Regions from separate parts of the Homo sapiens genome. Here region 2 is linked to region 1. Evidence: promoter capture Hi-C in 16 types of primary human blood cells and fetal thymus (Javierre and others, 2016). All regions are on one chromosome and are shown on one strand. Each heading gives the region's core, a stretch centred on a gene start or on the middle of the fragment in contact. The rest is flanking DNA. Distances are from core to core; before and after follow the strand shown.

The links. The method cuts DNA at HindIII sites, captures the fragments that hold promoters and counts their contacts. A CHiCAGO score of 5 or more calls a contact.
Region 2: a contact is called between a fragment that was not itself captured here and the fragment with the promoter of LGSN in region 1, in 6 of 17 cell types (M2 macrophages, naive CD4 T cells, M0 macrophages and 3 more). The highest score is 7.8, in M2 macrophages.

Annotation. Positions count from the first base shown.
Region 1 is chr6:63,315,491-63,322,573 of GRCh38, forward strand. It overlaps LGSN (lengsin, lens protein with glutamine synthetase domain), which reads right to left and starts at 4,493. Exons shown (of 4, transcript NM_016571.3): 1 at 4,424-4,493. The coding sequence starts at 4,453. The HindIII fragment of the contact is 640 bases long and covers 4,077-4,716 here.
Region 2 is chr6:63,853,751-63,860,693 of GRCh38, forward strand. All of the region lies in intron 36 of EYS (eyes shut homolog), which reads right to left. It also overlaps the pseudogene GCNT1P4. Among named protein-coding and RNA genes, the nearest start is that of SCAT8, 50 kb to the left of the region's middle. The HindIII fragment of the contact is 1,089 bases long and covers 1,097-2,185 here.

The DNA.
Region 1 (7,083 bases), core at 3,243-5,742:
TTCACAGTAGTTACCCTCAATATCAGGCCTTTTCACCACGGTTATGATTACCCCACTTAAGATACTGAGAAAACATTATTTCTCTTGCTTTTCTGAAGAATAGCTAAAATGTTCTCTCTCTCTCTCTCTGTGTGTGTGTGTGTGTGTGTGTGTGTGTGTGTGTGTATGCATGCTCTCACTCTCTATATATCTATATAAATATATAGATATATATTTCAGTGAGGCAACTGAGGATCTGATAAATGCAGCAACTTGACTGGCTTCATAGCTAGAACATAGCAGAATTCAAATATGTGTGGTTTACAACTCTTATTTCATCTCTTCATGCTACTTACAAACTTTATATGTGACAAAATACAGAAAACTAAGGAAATCCAGGTCTTAAAAAAAAAAAAAACTCCACATTTCAAGTGAGAGTTCAATAGTATCTCTATCTTTTGAAGTAAAACAAAGCACAGAAGGAAAATCCAGATAAATTGCTTGGAATTTGCAATGAATCAGAATTTTACTTAATATAATAAGCCCAAAATGGAATGGGTTATTTGTCAAAGTGTTGAGTTTCTCATCTCCAAGCACATTTGTGGGGAGATTAGCCAAATGTCAGGGTCAACCTGGTTAATTTCCACTTCTACAATCAAATTTTCACTTTCTAACTGTTTAATCCTCACCACTTTTACAAGATAATAACCTAGACCTAAGTTGGCAGATTAGGTGGAACATTCATATGTGACCGAGAATGATAGAGCAACGATCATTACTGAGAGCTCTGTGTGAAAGAAGTATCAGAATGTAAATGATATAGCTGCTCCCATATGAAAAGCTATGAGTCTCGTTTTTATTTCTAACAAATTGGCTAATAGTCAACAGTGTGTATCAACCCATAAACAAATCTCACCTCTGTGGGCAAGTTATGCAAAATCTACAATAGAAGTTCTACACAAGAAAAATATACCTAACCAAACATTTTCAGAGAAGGAAAAACATAATTTTACAAAGGTCTAACACCATGTGATTTTGATAATATGAAGCTAAATAATAAAGAACACTAAAATAATAAAGGAAGCAAAAAGTTTTGTTTTATTTAGTATGTTCATAATTAAATCAAAGAAGAATTCTCCATATTTTTTAGAGAAATTAAGATCGTATGGCTAAAAATATATTTATCCATGTAGACAGGACAAAAATAATTTGTGAAGGCTTTGTGGGTGAGCAGAAAAGCAACAAAAATATTTCAAAGGTAAAAAGACATGTAGAAAAAATTTAAATATTCATGTATATATAATATATATTTATGATAATGGGCTCTGTAATATAGTATGAAAAAAGATCCAAGAATGTTATGGAACTGTTCGTGAAGATATCAGCTAATGGGCTGCTGCAGCATATAAAAATACTGCAAATATGAATATAAAAATACTTTAAATGTGAGAGGGGAAGGTGCTCTACCCTTTAAAAAAATTATGATATGCCTGTAACTGATTGCTAAAAATAGTTCTAGTCATTGTGCCTTAGGAAAGCCTTAATAGGCTAGAAGTGGATGGATATATGTTTATGTAAAAAGGTATATTATATATAATTGTTATCATTACTATCATAAGCAAACAAATTCTATCATGTAAAGGAAAACATGTAAAACTCTTTAAGGCTGTAAAAATGAAAACAGGAGAGCTATTAGAGGTCAACATAACATAATAAAGTATATGTAATGAATGACTCCTTTTTAATGAGTTCTCACTATATTGTAAGCACAGTTCTAAGCACTTTACATGTATTAACTCATTTAATCTCCACAAAATCCCTTCCTGTAGGCACTATTAATGTCCCAGTGAGGTACAGAGAAGTCCAATACTTTGCCCCATGTCACACAGCTAGTAAGTAGCAGAGCCAAGATTAAAATGCAGGCATTCTCATTTCAGGAAGTGCGAGCTTAATCCACTGCCCTTGAAACTCAAATCTAATTTTTGTCTTGTCTCTCCACTGAGAATTCTTAAATGGAGAGCTAGTTGATACACTGGAAGTAGGTAAGTTTGAGGTAAATAATTATAAAATGAACTATAAACCTTGAAATCTTCAGAAGACAAATCTTCTGAATTCTCAGAGACAAAACAAATGGAAAATACAAAACAAGAATCAGGAGGTCTCTAGAGTCACACAGACAATAGCATAAAGCAGGGAAAGCTGGGGTAGGTAAATCTCTAGCCTCTTGAAGCAAGCCTCTAGAAGGTCAGGTAGAGCCTCCCATGGGGCTGCACTTCATGCCCCCAACAGATACAGGCTGCAGAGCAGGATGAGTCTCTGACTTCACCCCAGATGGCATTCATTCCTTCTGTGATATGGAAACGTCAGAACTGTGTCTACCTGTGTCAGTGTTCTCTGTATTGAGTTATAAATATCTGCAGGGTGGGGAACAGATCTTACTCACTTGACATATTACCCAGCTCAGCACCACACACAAGGTTCTTGATAAACAGATTTTAATTGTTATGATATGCCACTCTTTCACTCAATTTCACAATTTCATACACCCATAGGATCTACTTTAAGAAGTAAGAATGTGTTTTCAATCTATTTTTTGTCTGCCACTGCTAAGAATGTAGCTGAATGCATGACTTTACAGCATTGTTTTAAATAGAGAATCTCAGTAAAATATTCTTTAGGGGAGTACCAAACCTAAGATTAATAACTGTTCATTTTACTGAATATTCTGACAAAGAATTTCTTCAGACTGGGGAAGTAAGTATTCTGAGGGATTTTCTCCATATACACAATCTGCCCTTCGGAATCCACTGAGCTTTTGTTCAGCTGCTGTGTTTTGTAGTTAACTTCATGCTGCTCTTGCTCACATTACCAGAGCATCTAGCATGAAACACAGTCTTGTCCTTTTCCAAACATCTGTTAGCTGGAAAAGGAATGTCACATGTCATCTCTCTCCCTCCTTCCATATTCTTTCACTTCCTGAGAATGCGAACCTATACAGGAGAGTATAAAAGAGCTTATTCAGTGGAGTTGGGTCAAGTGGCCAGCCAAGATTCACCTTTATTACATCTAGTAAATACAATGCTCTATTCCAACTTTGAGGGAACTTTTCCTCAAAAGACAGAGAATGTCTCTTGCTGTGAGAATTGTGCAGTTTAAAAATCATATTGTTCATTTTTCTGCTCTCCTAAGAGTAAACAATCAACATTTGGTCTAGACTGGTCTTGAGGAGGGCATGGCTTTTAAGGACTTTCATGGGAGCTGTATCACCTGGAATCCTGGACTAAAATTGTGGGAGCTGGGGAAGAAAGCAGAGTTCTGCCATGGGATCAGAAGTAGTAAGTAAAACTAGTCCAAGAAGTTACATAGTTAGAAATCAAAATCCCAAAAAGCTAATGATGTATATGCTAATTACCTTTACTTTCTTTCTATAAGCCTTCCTTTGCAGCTATGAATTTACTTTTAGCTAAATTCATTATAATCACATAAACATGTCCACCATTTGATGCCTACAACAGTGACATGACAGTACAGGATAAGCCACAGCTCCTCCTCAGGGAGTGCCTTCTTCACATAGCCTTGCCCAGTTTCCCTTAGGGAAAGTGCATTTGTTCTTGACTCTATTTCAAAACAACTGCTTGTATTCACTATACAGATCAGTGAACCCATTCTTAGATGTTAGCTATCTTCTCCACTACATGCAAAAGTGGGGACCAGGTTTGTTCTCTATATGCCACTATTTCATACATAATGCACTGGTCTTCCACTGCACTCTTCACATAGTAGGTATGCTTCTTGCATTATATTTTCTTAACCTACTAAAGATAACTCACATCCTCCCAAATTTTACCACAGCTTGCCTCCAAGTCTGCACTTCAGTCTTTCAGAATGGTCAGTCAGAAATACAAGAGTGAAGGTTGGGTACACACACATTAAGAAGTGAGGAGAAATGTTATATGTTGACAACTGATTATTTTAATATATGCTAGACCCTATAAGTGGCTATCATTATTCATGCTGTGCATTTCAAATATAATTTGAAAACAGGTTTCCACCTTTAGTCATTTAATCTCAAAGCATATTTATTAGAAAGAGGCCAAAGCTTTGAGAAAAACAAAGATTATTCTCTCAATAACAACCAAAATAGAAATAAATTTTTTTATAGCATACTTATGCTTCTGAAACTCAGTGCCTATTGAACTTAAATGATTATTCAAACCAAATGAGCTTTCCTAGATGAATATTTTGAATTGTTTAGTTTTTATTATCTTTATAAATTCACTGTGTAGTACAGAAGGGCAATTCTTCATAAACTTCTCCTGAGTGGACATATAACAAGTATAATTATGCTGCCCTTATTCTTACTGGCATTCAAATAATTGACATTTTTTAAAAAGATTTACTGTCAATATTTTGGTTAAAAACATTTTAATGATTAGCTTCATACCTCCTGCAGAAGGTCCTCTTCATTATTCATCTCAACACTTTTTAAGTTCAGCGTTAGAAACCACAATATCCTCAACAAATGCATTCAACATGTATTTATATGTGTACCTACAACAAAGACTGCAGATGATGAATTCCATAGAGGCTTTTCCAGAGGGGTCTGGCAGGTAATAAAAGATAAACATCAGATTCTGATGTGTCATGCCCAAGGCACAGTATGCTGGAAATGCACTAGAAGAATCGAATGACAAATGCTTGTTTACGCCTGACTCCCTGCAAACAAAAGACATACAAAGCTTAAAATTGTGTTGGTTGATTTTTTTCTCCAACATACAGAATTTTTGTTACATAACAATTGTATTCTGGAATGATATCTATTGTCAGATTCAGATGATGAAACACTTATTAGACGACTATGCTATCAAAGCCCACAGACAAAAGCACAGATGGAAAAATACAGCTATAAGTGACCCAGATTTTTACCAATGGCAAAGATCCACTCATTTGTAATTCTCATTTTTATTTTCTTTTCTAGGTCCCTCTGGCCTCCAAATTAATTCTGGACCTTCATTATAAAACTGAAATATCTTTCTTTAGCTTTTCCAATTCTCCGATGTCAGTCTGTGACAAATCCCAGACCATCCCCACTGTGCACAATGAACACAGAATCATCTACAGGCTGCCCCATATGGTCCCATAAACAATCCTAACTCAGTAGAGGAAATAGGGAATGCTTTCTCTTCACTAGTAAAGGGGGTTTGAAATCACACTTCTGCTGCTATCAACTCAACTTCAAGTATTGTTGATGAAGGAGGATATGCAGTTTCTTCTGAACCAAACCAAATTCTCTCTAAGCATTTTCCATGTGGAAGTGTATAGTCTCCATGGCTAATCACTTCTTCCTGGTCTTCTGGGCCTGAGGAAGACCAAGCCAATACTTACAACCACTCAATCCTGCCTGACTCTCTTGGCCCATTTCAAAAGCCCCATTTCCTAAAGACAGTGATTAACTATTCCTATTTCCATTCCATTGGTACTTGTTCCATGACTGACTCTAAAGCTTCTGCTCTGTGTAGCCTGATCTACAACCAGATCTTGAATTTGGACCTAGTTCTGATGCTGATGCCAGCCTGAAACTGCATCCTGAATATGGCTGTTTTGGACTCTTGAACCTCCCCAAGAAAAGGGATTCTATCTCCTATCCTAGTATTTGACTTGCTCTTGGTGCTTTCCCCCAGATCTCTAGTAGGGTGTTTAATTCCCACAATGTCTTGTACCAGAGCCTTACCTAAGTTTTTCTCAATCCTCTTCTGAGACCACATTTGCTTCCACTTTTACAACTTTTTCTTGCATGTGCTTGTCTCCATGCAAAACAGGTGCCATTGAGCTATGGAAAAAAATGTTTTGTGAAAAATTTCGTTTTTGTTTCAGAAATGTTCCCTTTCCTATATCAAAGAAAAGAACTCCAAGCTGGTTTACATGTTCAGTTACATATTGGGACATGTTTTAAAAAAATCATTCCTTTATAGTACTACTTACCCAAATTTTCTCCTGGGAGTTTTATTGTTATTGAATATGCAATTTGATTCATTTCATCTTCTTTTCCTTACCTTATTTTGACAATCTCTTCTTCTCAATGTGTATCCATGATTTTTTTATAATATCCTTTCCTGAACCTTGATTTGCCCATTTTTGTAAAAAGTGTTCTAAAGCTTGGTTGGACATATGGTGTATAACCTAATTTATGGTATTAGCATGATACATATTTTAAAAGTATTACCATTATTTAGAATCAGTTTTTCCAAAGGAAAAACCAAATGTCAGTAAAGGGCTTAACAAATAGATTAGAAAAATAATAAATGGTCAATAAGTCCATATTAAACACTTTCATTCACAAGCATTTGTTCAATCTGTACTATATCCAGAAAGCTATCTTAGTCAAAATGAATATAGTCATTGAGCCATGAATGTAAATGATACAAGTCTTTCTCTTACCACTCTTCTGAGACAACATATGGAAAGACCGTTCAACTCAAGTACTTCTCCTGCCAAAAAGTTGTAATCTAATTGAATGGATCCAGAGAAGAGTAACTAAAATGATTAAAGGAATTATGGGATTCATTTCATGAGAACAGATTGCAGAAGCTAAAGCTTACTAAGTACCAACAAGGGGAAACAATATGTTGTTTACCACTAAGTTACTGCCTTCTGATGAATTATTGAACAGGATTGGAAGAGCAAAGGATGCAAATTAGGTAAAGGATTAAATCTATTCTTTCACTGTGGGAGAAAATGAAATCACAATGAATCTGTTTTTGTTTCATGTTTACATATATTATATGTTACAGTACAGTGTATAAAATACAAAGTTCTTGTCTTCCCAGCACTAACTGATAAGGAAATAGGGTGAAAACATGCCCAATGAGACCAAGGGAATAACTGACTTGTGAGAATAATAGCCAAGTTCAGTGAAGGAAATAATCTTTCTTATGACCTTCATGAATCACAAAAATATGGTTTCAGGTCAGCATAAGAACATAACAACCACGACAGAAGGATACTTCCACCCTACCTTTCTCCCGATTTGTTGTTGTTCTAGAAGCTGCATGGGTTTGTTCCTCCTTTATATGCATCTAATTATGACATACCTAACAGGAAGAC
Region 2 (6,943 bases), core at 391-2,890, 540 kb after region 1:
AACCAAAACAGCATGGTACTGGTACCAAAACAGATATGTAGGCCAATGGAACAGAACAGAGGCCTCAGATATTACACCACAGATGTATAACCATCTGATCTTTGACAAACCTGACAAAAACAAGCAATGGGGAAAGGATTCCTTATTTAGTAAATGGTGCTGGGAAAACTGGCTAGTCATATGCAGAAAACTGAAACTGAAACAACAGTTGCTGGAGAGGATTTAGAGAAATAGGAATGCTTTTACACTGTTGGTGGGAGTGTAAATTAGTTTAACCTTGTGGAAGACAGTGTGGTGATTCCTCAAGGATCTAGAACTAGAAATACCACTTGACCCAGCAATCCTATTACTGGGTATATACCCAAAGGATTATAAATCATTCTACTATAAAGACACATGCATACCTATGTTCATTGCAGCACTATTCACAATAGCAAAGACTTGGAACCAAACCAAATGCCCATCAATGTTAGACTGGATAAAGAAAACGTGGCACATATATACCATGGAATACTATGTAGCCATAAAAAAGAATGAGTTCATGTCCTTTGTAGGGACATGGATGAAGCTGGAAACCATCATTCTCAGCAAACTAACACAGGAACAGAAAACCAAACTCCACATGTTCTCACTTATAATTGGGAGTTAACAATGAGAACACATGGACACAGGGAGGGGAACATTACACACCGAGGCCTATCAGGGGGTGGGTGGCAAGGGGAGGCATAGGATTAGCACAAATACCTAATGCAAGTGGGGCTTAAAACCTAGATGACAGGTTAATGGGTGCAGCAAACCACCATGGCACATGTATACCTATGTAACAAACCTGCATGTTCTGCACATGTATCCCAGAACTTAAAGTATAATAATAATTACAATAAAAAAGCCACTTCATTGTTTCCTCCATCAATCACAGCTAGTTGAAATTATATAATAAATTATGTATATAATATATGCTAAATCCCAAGCAGTTTAAGCATAATTTAACCATAATTTGAAATCAGTTACTTGAAATCAGTCCCATGAAATCAATAGAAGGAATAAAAATCTCAAATTATGTTTGGAAGATAATTGTCTAGATTAGTGGTCTCCAAGCTTGTTTAATCTTGCTTCACAGACATTATTTACTTAAAATTCTATACATCTTCTCATATAATGTAGACCTCATGAAACCCACAAAAAATAGAAATTAAAGGATCGAGATAAAAAGAGAATTAATATTTTCTTCCAATATCACAATGGAGTCTGTATACTCCACTCTGGGAACCATTAGACTGGTATACTCTTTGAAAGCCTTGTCATGTGAGAAAGAAGAATTCCTTGGTTTAATGCTGTTATTGCAGGAATTCTTAGAGTTTTTACTGTGCTACCGCACATGGTGAATTCCTGAAAGGGCAATAGAGTACTGTGTAGTGATCTAAAGAAAGACAAGTCAGAGATTCCAGATCTGGGTCTGCCACTCATGAACAATATCACTTTAGACTGGTTATTTAAACTCACTGAACTTCAGTTTTTCCATCTGTACAATGGCAATAATGATGTATCTCCTTGGGTTATTACACAGATTATATAAGAAGATGAATGTAAAGCACTTAGTCCAATGCCTAGCTTATGGGTATCTTATCGCACTAGTGTACTGTGAAAAATACTTCTGGAAATATTTCAGATTAGACTATTCACTCACTGATTATATTATTAAGATACTTTTTAAAATTTCACAAATACTTATGATTATCTCCTAAGTATAGGTGTAGTAGTAGGCTCAGGGCAACAGCATACATAGCTGAATATTCTGAAGGACTTTTAAATTATTTTTAACTCAGAAAAAAATTTCAGAACCTACCATGTGTCAGACACCATGTACTGCTCTGCAGATATGATGATGGCCGAGGCAGATAGGGTGTCTACCTTCATGAAACTTAGAGTATGAGGAAAGGACTGGTATGATTTATGGCCAGTGTTTACAAGGTAAATGCAAAATAGTTTAAAGAGTGTTCTGATAAAGGGTGAAGAAGATGGGGGCTATTGGGTTAGCTGAGGTCTGCCCATGCAAAACTTGCACATCATTTTAAACAGTTCTTACTTTATCCTAAGGAAAATAGGCCACTTTCAAGGTCAAAGGGATGAAGGGACAAAATATTAGAAAACACACAATATAAGCATGTCACTGAATATAAACAAAAGCTTGAACAAAATAACTTCACAGTTTTTCCTGTGGCAAAAATTTACTCAGACTCTAATTAATTTTTTGTTTCAGTGAAGTTTTTTTTTTTTTTTTTTATGTATCACAAATGTGTTTGTGCCTTCCGTTGCTTGCTAACTGGCAGGTGCATCACATTAACATAGCTCTTAAACCAACCAAGCAGAGCCTGATAGGTGTGGTGGGATCTGACAGTATTCATTTGATATGAAGCAATGACTCTTTGCTAAAGGGCCTGGACTGACAGACCTGCAAGGTAAAAGTCTCTGGTGAGCTTGAGAATAAACTACAGAGGTTTACTTTCCACACATGGTCTGCAAGACCAATTTGCCATAAGTATATTCAGGAGAGACCACTCTGCCTTCTGTGAATATATAGTCTCTCTATTTTAGACCTTTTTAAAAAGCAGGAAATGCTTCTGTCGGAAGGGAGAATTCTGTGAGGTTGCTAAATAATGACAAAGTGCTGGAATAAACAGAAAGGAGAACATTTGGCCTTGAGAGTTTAGTGTTCTACTGACAGTCAGTGTTCTGACAGAGGCAAACAGTCAGAGTTTGATAGTGAATAGTCTGTTCTCTGTGTAAAAGTGGACAATAACAGATGTGTAGCTCCCTAGGAATTGAGATGTAAAAATCTGCAAACTAATTTGGTTTCCATTTAGTGTAAGTAGAAACTGCCTCATGGAAATAGTTTTAAGATGAGAGGTAATGGTTCAAAAGAAATATATAAAATATCTTTTCTTATTATTTTGCTAACTTAGAAAAATATGGTTGTATATTTTTCTGCTTCCCATGATATTTCTTTGGATTAAAAAATTTTAACACAGTTTCACTGGATTGCAAAAATGTATTTTATAAACTTATAATTTATCAAATCTATTAGACTGAAATAAGATAAATATAATACAAGAAATCCTGGTTTTGTTTGAGAAGGAGTCTAAGAGTTTATGAACAAAATCAGATACACTTAATAAAACATATTGAAATATGTAGTTCAGGGAAATCTTGACACTTATATCACGATTAGATTTAGCTCCATATAACAGACAACTTATTAAAAAGCAGAGGTTTAAGCAAAATAAATTATTTCTGTCATTAACAGAAAGTTTCTTACTGAACATTTCCAGGCTAGTATGGTGGTTTTATAGTTAAGGATTTAAACTTCTTTCATCATTTTGCTTCACCATCTTAGCATGTATCTTTAATTCTCAAGGTGACTTCGTAGTCCGAGATGACTTCTGGAATTCAAGACATCTCATGGACATTCTAGACTTCAGAAAGAAGGAAGATTTGGAGGTCATGCTACTCTTCAAGAGATTTTCCAGAGGTCAATATAATACTCTAACACTTCTGCTTACATCTGATTTTCCAGAATTTAGTCCCATGGCCACATTTTAAGCTCTAAGGGAGGATAGGAAACTTAGCTGGGTACATTAGTGACCCACGTACAATCAAGAGTGCACTAATACAGTATTTGTATCTGTATGAGATGAGTATCTCTGGGCCAGTGTCCAGAGGATTCCCTGAAGTGCCCGGCTTACTCTTCAAAGCCATAAGTACTATTTCTCTGACATGCACGCAATTGCTAGCTCTGTCAAGTGGTAGAACTTTAAGTGTATGTTTCCTAGGGTGCTCCATGACCACCGTGTGATGGGGTCCACGTGTGCTCAGTGTGCATTTTCTGGAGCTGGAGACTTGAACTGGATGCTACTCAAGCACTACTTGTTTGCCAATAAGTTTGATGTGGATGTTGACCTTTTTGCCATCCAATGCTTTGATGAGCATCTGAGACATAAAACTTTGAAGACATTACAACACTGACAATTACAGGCAATTTTATGAATAATAAGGAGGATACACAAAAAATATCCTTATCTGGTTCCTCTTCCTTGTCAGCAAGCATCGGGAAAATGGTATGAAGTCCTCTTTGGGGTGGGGACTCTTAGTTTTCTTGTCAGAGAAGCTGCATGTTTTCTGCAGAACACCATTGGCTAGATATGTGATAGCATTAAATGTTCACCTAAATTTAACGTGAGGGGGAGTAAAAGTAGCCTTGAGGCCAGAGCAGGTAGCATTCTGGAAAGAGGGGACCAGGGTGCCTGGGGAAGAGGCCGATGCATAAGGTCAGCCTGTTCAAAGAGCTCAGGGACTTAGCAAAACGAGAAGATTTCACCTGTGCCAAAACTATTAAGAATTTTAAATGTGACAATTTTCCTGGTATCAATAAATTTATAGCAACAAACAACCATAAAGATACAATTGATCTGATATGTTGTATTGAAATAGAAATTTGATTTTACTGTAAATTATTTGGCTAGGCTGGTCTTGAACTCCTGACCTCAGGTGATCCACCCACCGCGGCTTCCCAAAGTACTAGGATTACAGGCGTGAGCCACCATGCCTGGCCCATCAAAGCTATTTTTTAAGAACTGAAATGTGTACACTGAAATACACATTTATAAGTGCTGCTTTTAAATATGTGCCAACCTAACTTTTTCTCTCTACAGATGCTGAAGTAGAGGGAAAAAGTGAAAGGCAGGAGGTGCTCACTTTTTCCCTGAGCAAGAGGAAAGGCAACTTCCCTCAGTTCTTATGGAATAAAAAGTGCAGGCCATTCAAAGTCTGCCTTCAACAGAGAGAAAGAGGAATCACTTTCTTGAGCACTTTTTTTCTCATTCCTGTCTCCTTGCTCCTGTCTGGGATTAGGCTTGACCTTTTAGTATTTCTTTGTAACAAGGAACTGGAAAATAAAGATTAAAACATGGTGGGAAATGAGGGATACTAAGATGTGTTGAACGGTGGGGCAATCAAACAGCTGTTGAGTTGGAGAGAGAAAGCTGGATCATATCAGAGTGGATGCTATCAAAAGAGTTATGAGCTTAACATGACAGAAAATTGCATGTTCTTGAAATATGCCATTACAAAATGTCAGCCTGACATTAAGCTGCTTTATAGAGGTATCATGTCCCTAAATAGCCTGGTGATTATTCGTGTCCCTGGAGCTCTACTTTCCTCCCTGATTTTGTAATACCTTGGCTTGTCTTTAATCACTGCAGAGTGTCACCATCTTAGAAAAATTCTTAAAAGAAAATTAATTTTGATTTCCATTGATGTCCTAGAGAGTTTTTTTTTTTTTTTTTTTTTTTTTTTTTTTTTTTTAATAGCTGGGATGGAGATGCAGCCTTCTGTCCCACAATGACAGGAGGTAGCAGTTTCCTGTAAGGGTAAGGATCCTACTTTGACCACCCTTAAAAAACAAAAGCATTTTCTATATGCCCATTATGTGTTAAGCACTTTACATGCATTATCTCATTTAATTCTCATAAAACCTATAAGGTAAGTTCTATTATTAGACTCATTGAAATTGAAGTACAGAGAGACCAAGTGACTTGCCCAAGTCACTCAGCTGGCTAGTCAGTACTAAAATGGAAATTTTAACCCAGGCAGATTGATTCTGGAGCCTATTCTTAGGTAGTTACACTGCTTTCCTCAAGGACCATGTTCCATTGAGAGGCTTAAGTTGGGAAGATAAGGTAAATTATTATGAAATATTTATAGAAAGGACAAAAGAGAGCAAGAGATAACGCATTCCACCTTTGTCTTTAGAATGGTGTGATTAAGAAAACAAAAAAACCTGGGCTGGGCTTTATACATTAAGAGAACATTCTAATAAATGCTACTGCCACCAGAAAAAAAAAAAAAAAAGAAGAGATTATTCTTGCATAAGGAGAGGCAACAGGAAGTGTGAATGAGGAGCACAAATGTGGAAAGTAAAGCTGTTTAAAAAGGAAAGCAGCTGCAAACTTCCCATCTGCAGTGTTTGTTTGTCTCGGCTCCGGCCATCACTGCCACGATTACCCCTGGATGAATTCCTCAGTGGAAATATCAACAAGGTAGGAAATGTGATAATTATATTTTCTATTGTCCCCCAAAGAACATATTAAGATGGTAGATATGGACATAATTTGGAAGAAAAGTGCTATGTAGTAGACACAATTGCTGATGAAATAAAACTAGCTGATTTTTCATCCTCTGGTATTAGCAAAAAGGCAAAGTCCCAGATGTTATTCTGTGCCTCTTCTACAGTGTAGTTGTAATTGAACAACAGCTAGGCTTATTGGATTGCTTTTTGCCTTTCTTTATAAAATAAATATATATTAAGTATATTCTAGACAATCTTCTAGAGGTCATAGTAGTAACAGTGAATGATCCAATAGATGGCTTGGGATATCACCTCATACTAGTTGGTGGGGTATAGAAAGTATTGATGCCTGTTGATGTAAAAAAGGTTTCTGGAGGGAGCTAACACTCGAGGGGGATTTTTTTGTGACTCAAAAATATTGAATATTGATATGTGATGGAATATTGATATGTTAAGCTCTCTTTCTATAACCTCCAGCTTTTCTGATGCTGTCACCTAAGATGCCTGCTAAAGCTTGTACTCTCAGCAGTCTTGCATGGCAATCTAGAAGTGTGGGAATATTAATGTCTTGTAGGGAAACCTTCAATCAAAAAGAACCATGAGACAATGGTCAAACATTTCTCTCTTTTGCCCCTTGGGCAGCCAATTGTGAGACTTTTTGTATAGCTCCTCATAAGATCTGAGTGAAATCACGCACAAGTTGCCCACAGTGATGTTCAATGCCCTGTGCGCCTTTGCACTGACTTTCTCTCCTACCCCATTTTATTCTCACTAGATCTTCTCTCCTATTTCCTGGAATCATTTCCTAAGTAAACGACC